Regions from separate parts of the Homo sapiens genome. Here region 2 is linked to region 1. The links are contacts of gene promoters, found by promoter capture Hi-C in blood cells and fetal thymus (Javierre and others, 2016). All regions are on one chromosome and are shown on one strand. The core of a region is centred on a gene start or on the middle of the fragment in contact, and the rest is flanking DNA. Distances in the headings are between cores, read along the strand shown. Region 1 holds the start of UBE4A (ubiquitination factor E4A). Region 2 has its middle 20 kb from the start of CD3E.

Region 1 (2,984 bases), core at 238-2,737:
TGCTTTCAGTTATTTTGAACATCTATATCAAAGCGGAATTGCTTGATCATGTGGTTATACTATGTTTAACTTTTTGAGGAATCATCAAACTGTTTTTCCAAAAAGTCTGGACTATTTAACATTGCCATCAGCAACGCATACGGTTTCAATTTCTCCACATCTGCCAACAATTACTTTCCTTTTTTTTTATAGTAGCCATCCTAGTAGGTATTAAGTGGTATCTCATGATTTTTTTTTTCATTTCCCTAAAGACTAGTGGTGTTGAGCACTCTTTCATATGCTTATCCACCATTTGTACAGTTGGCCTTCCATATCTGTGGGCTCTGCATCTGTGGCTTCAACCAACCATGAATTGGAAATATTCCAAAACAAATTTCATCTGTATTGAACATGTACAGACTTTTTGTCATTATTCCCTAAACAATACAACACTATTTAGATTTATGTTGTATTAGGTATTATAAGTGATCTAGAGATGACTTAGTCATCTCTAGGATGACACAGGAGGATGTGCATAGGTTATATGCAAATACTGCATCATTTTATGTAAGGAACTTGAGCATCCTTGGATTTTGGTACCCAAGGGGGTCCTGAAACAAATCCCCCACAGATACCAAGTGGATAGTCATTCTCTTGGAATGTATCTTCTTTGGAGAAATGTCTATTCAAGTCCTTTGCCCTTTTTTGAACTGAACTGTTTGGGGGTTTTTCGTTCTTGTAGTTCTTTACATATTCTAGAGATGAATCCTTTATCAGATATATGAGTTGCAACTATTTTCTCTCAATCTGTGAATTTTCACTTGCACAGCGCTTTTAACTCTTGAAAATTATGCTGCTTCTATTATTTATGTGTATCCCGATCTCTTGCCCTCGTGACCCGCCCGTCTCAGCCTCCCAAAGTGCTGGGACTACAAGGCGTGAGCCACTGTGCCTGGCCATCTATGTGTATCTCAAAACAACCTTGTAGGATGTATACTGTCTCCACTTTACAGATAAGAAAACTGAAATCCAATCAAAGATAGCACACTCCAAAGATTGCTCCAAAGACAGCACAACAATAACAAACTTGTAGTTGTTATTGCTGTTAGTGTTATCCCTTTGAATAATAGAGAGTAACAGAAGCTGCTTCAAAAAGGTCTAGGACTGGTGGGAAAATAAGAGAGCAGACCCCCAACAGAGGTTGCGAGCAGAGCCAGGGATCACAGAGTTTTATCTGCCCTCGGTACGCTGATTTCCAAAACCCAGCCTCATATTCTATACTCCAAAGCGCACTGCCAGGTGGGCCAACTCCAGCCCCCACAATCCGATGCCAAGGCCACTTCTTGCCACTTCCTGCCCGCCTCCAGCCCGCCCCTAACAAGCTAGCGCATGCGCTGTAGGACTATTTGCGCGCCGTTCCCCCCGGTGAGCCTGCACACCGTGCTTCCGGCGCGGAGATGAACTTCCACATGCCCCGGCGCTTGTTGATGACGTAACTTCCGGTTGCTGTGCTGAGTCGGAAGTGGGAACCCTTCGGCCGCTGAGATTCTGTCGTGTCGTCGCTGCTGGCACTTCAGGCTCTGGTAAGACAGGCAATAGCTTCAGGGGACGGGGTCGTTGACTTTGCGTTGTGATATTTTCTGCTGGTCCAATGCCACTTCAAGCCTGTTCACTCTTATCTTCTCCAAATTCCTTCTCCTATGCTTTGCTAACCAGGGACCTTCTCCTTCTTGAACTTCGACCCTGTCTGATTTGGAACCCCTTACAGTGCCCCAGCTTCTGATGTCTCTTTGTACATTTCTGTCCCCATCTTTGCCAAGCCCCTCCTGGAAGAGGCCGGAGCGCTATCATTGCATTATCTTTTGACTTAACTTTCTCTAGAACGTGCCCCGGGCGGGTGGATCTCCCTCCTTCCCGCGAATCCCTTATGGAGCATGGAAGGATAAAATATAAAGAGTAGATAACAAATAGGCAGATGCCAAGAAGATAAGATTAATCGTGAGTCGTAAGCAAACCAGTTCAATGCATACGTCAGGGTGTTGATAATTCTTAAGGCAGGTGATGAGTTCACCACAGATAACTCTTGGGGCACTCTGCTTCATGTTTCCTTGGGTTTAGAAGACACTTCTAAAATTGAGTGACCATGCCTCATGACCTTATATTTGATGAGCCTTCCTTTTAGGATCAGTTTTATGCCCTGACAGCAAGCATGTGTTTAGTCTCGCTGTCATTTACTGTTTTGGTCTCACGTGGAAGCCCACCTGCGATAAAATGGGATCCAAGAAGGACTGCTGTCTGCTTTTTGACTTGAGATCCTTCTAGGCTGCAGATAGATGTGTTGATGGAATTTGTTGCCACATTAGCATGGCCTGATAGTGTTAGGTGAAACATACGACAACGAAAATTGTTTCTTAATTTCTATTTTAAATTGATATTTTAATTTCTATTTTATATTGATATATGTATTATTTGCCAGGACACAGACCTTATGGGAGTATGATTTGATAGAGCTTGATTTTGACGATCCCAGTTTTACAAAGTGTTCCAGATATTTCTGTTGAAAAACAATACCAAGTCTGATGTTAACACACTTGTGTGTTCATGAGAGCTGACAGTGGTCTTAAAGGATTAGTGGTACTATTCATAAACAAAAGCTTGTATTAGGAGGAAGTGACAGAATTTTGTAGGACAGCTATTATAGATATAGATCTTTGCAGCAAGTGTATCAGAGTGAAACTTGTTTTCAAGGAGGATATATTTTAAAAGAATCAAATCCAAAAGCTTCTAAGGTTGGTAGCTGTACCATCCCAAAGTGTCTGACAACAGGATAGTGTTGTATCTCTGTATGGCAGTTGAAAATAGGAAAAAAAATACATACATATATGTATGTATATATGTGTGTGTGTGTGTGTGTGTATTTTTTTTTTTTTTTTTTTGAGACAGAGTCTGGCTCTGTCACCCAGGCTCTGCTCTGGAGTGCAGTGGCACGATCTCAGCTCACGGCA
Region 2 (2,820 bases), core at 145-2,644, 75 kb before region 1:
ACCAAGGTAATTCCTCATGTGACAGTCCTTTTGACCCATATGACGAGATGTTCCAGGCTCATCTTGAACACTTCTTGCCATAGACTTAAAATCATCCGCAATTCTTCAAGGATCCCTGATTTCTTTTAGTGGGAAATGGTGTTTGAACCTACAATCTGGGCATTAAGGATACACTGCTACGAGGGTGTTAAATTATTTTTGTGACTCATCTACTGCTTTATGCTGTATAGGCAGACCTCATTTTATTGCACTTCACTTTATTGCACTTTGCAGGTATTGTGTTTTTTACAAATTGAAGGTTTGTGACAACCCCATGTAGAGCAAATCATTTTCCAACAGCATGTGCTCACTTTGTGTCTCTGTGTCATGTTTTAGTAATTCTCACAACATTTCAAGCTTGTTTATTATTATTCTATATGTCGTGGTGACCTTTGATCGTGATCTTCGGTGTTACAGTAGTAGATGTTTTGGGGCACAACAAACCATGCCCATACATGATGGCAAACTTAATCAGAAAATGTTGTGCGTGTTCTGACTGCTCCACAGACCAGCCAGTCCCCCATCTCTCTCTCTATTCTCAGGCCTCCCTATTCCCTGAGACACAGCAATATTGAAATCAGGCCAGGTGAACCCTACAATGGCCTCTAAGTGTTCAAGTGAAAGGCAGTCGCATGTCTCTCACTTTAAATCAAAAACTAGACATGAGTAAGCTTAGTGAGGAAGGCATATGGAAAGCAGAGATAGGCAGAAAGCTCGGCCTCTCGCACCAAACAGCTAGCCAAGTTGTGAATGCAAAGGAAAAGTTTTTAAAAGAAATTGAAAGTGCTACTCGAATACATGAATGATAAGAAAGCAAAACAGCTTTGTTGCTGATATGGAGAAAGTTTGAGTGGTCTGGATAGAAGATCAAACCAACCACAACCTTTCCTTAAGTCAAAGCCTAATCCAGGGCAGGGCCCTGACTCTGTTCAATTCTATGAAGCCTGAGAGAGGTGAGGAAGCTGCAGAAGAAAAGTTTGCAGCTAGCAGAGGTTGGTTCATGAGGTTTAAGGAAAGAAGCCATCTCTATAACATAAAAGTACAAGGTAGACCAACAAGTGCTGATGTAGAAGCTGCAGCAAGTTATTCAGTAGATCTAAGTAAGGTAATTGATGAAGGTGGCTACACTAAACAACAGATTTTCAATGTAGTCAGGTGCAGGGGTTCACACTTGTAATCCCAGCACTTTGGGAGGCTGAAGCGGGAGGATCACTTAAGGCCAGGAGTTCGAGAACAGCCTGGGAAACACAGTGACACCCCATCTCTACAAAAAAATAAAAAATTAGCTGGGCATGGTGGCATACACCTGTAGTCCCAGCTACTCGAGAGGCTGAGGCAGGAGAATGGCTTGAACCCAGGAGTCCCAGGAGGCTGCAGTGAGCTATGATTGTGCCACTGTACTCCAGCCTGGGCAACAGAGTGAGATCCCATCTTAAAACAAAAACAAAAACAAAAAAAAACAAGAAAGAAAACTGGGCATGGTGGTGCACATCTCTAGTCCCAGCTACTCAGAAGGCTGGGATGGGAGGATCACTTGAGTACAGGAGTTTGAGGATGCAGCCAGCTATGATTGTGCCACCGCACTCCAGTATGGGCAAGAAAGCAAGATCCTTTCTCAATTTTTTTTTTTTTGAGACAGAGTCTCATTCTGTCATCCAGACTGGAGTGCAGTGGCACAATCTTGGCTCACTGCAACCTCCACCTCCCAGGTTCAAGCAATTCTCCTGCCTCAGCCTCCCAAGTAGCTGAGATTACAGGCATGCACCACCATGCCCAGCTAATTTTTTTTTTTTTTTTGTATTTTTAGTAGAGACAGAGTTTCACCATGTTGGTCAGGCTGGTCTCGAACTCCTGACCTCGGGTGACCCGTATGCCTCGGCCTCCCAAAGTGCTGGGATTACAGGCATGAGCCACCATGCCCAGCCATCAAATCTTTTTAAGTTAAAAAAAAATTAAATGTAGACAAAACAGCCTTACGCTGGAAGAAGATGTCATCTAAGACTTTCATAGCTCTAGAGGAGAAGTCAATGCCTGGCTTCAAAGCTTCAAAGACAGGCTGAGTCTCTTGTTAGTGGCTAATGCAGCTGGTGACTTTATGAAGCCAATTTATCATTTACCATTCTAAAAATCCTAGGGCCCTTAAGAATGATGTTAAATCTACTCTGCCTGAGCTCTATAAATGGAACAACAAAGCCTGGATGACAGCACATCTGTTTCCAGCATGGTTTTTTGTTTTTTTGTTTTGTTTTGTTTTGTCTTTTTCTTTTTTTGAGACAGAGTCTTGCTCTGTCGCCCAAGCTGGAGTGCAGTGGTGTGATCTTGGCTCACTGCAAGCTCCGCCTCCCGGGTTCACACCATTCTCCTGCCTCAGCCTCCCGAGTAGCTGGGACTACAGGCACCTGCCACCACACCTGGCTAATTTTTTGTATTTTTAGTAGAGATGGGGTTTCACCATGTTAGCCAGGATGGTCTAGATCTCCTGACCTTGTGATCCGCCCGCCTCGGCCTCCCAAAGTGCTGGGATTACAGGCATGAACCACCGCACCCAGCCGGTTTACTGAATATTTTAAGCCCACTGTTGAGACTTACTGCCCCCCTAAAAAAGATTATTTTTTAAAATATTATTGCTCATTGACAATGCACCTTGTCACCAAAGAGCTCTGATGGAAATGTACAAAGAGAAATTACTGCTGTTTTCATGCCTACCAACACAACATCTATTCTGCAGCCTATGGATCAAAGAGTAATTCTGACTTTCAAGTCTTATTATTTAAGAACTAC

The links. The method cuts DNA at HindIII sites, captures the fragments that hold promoters and counts their contacts. A CHiCAGO score of 5 or more calls a contact.
Region 2: a contact is called between a fragment that was not itself captured here and the fragment with the promoter of UBE4A in region 1, in 1 of 17 cell types (activated CD4 T cells). The highest score is 5.1, in activated CD4 T cells.

The regions. Positions count from the first base shown.
Region 1 is chr11:118,358,113-118,361,096 of GRCh38, forward strand. UBE4A (ubiquitination factor E4A) reads left to right here and starts at 1,488. Exons shown (of 20, transcript NM_001204077.2): 1 at 1,488-1,562. RefSeq lists an enhancer at 1,425-1,494. The HindIII fragment of the contact is 13,441 bases long and covers 1-2,631 here.
Region 2 is chr11:118,283,215-118,286,034 of GRCh38, forward strand. No RefSeq gene overlaps it. Among named protein-coding and RNA genes, the nearest start is that of CD3E, 20 kb to the right of the region's middle. The HindIII fragment of the contact is 1,372 bases long and covers 709-2,080 here.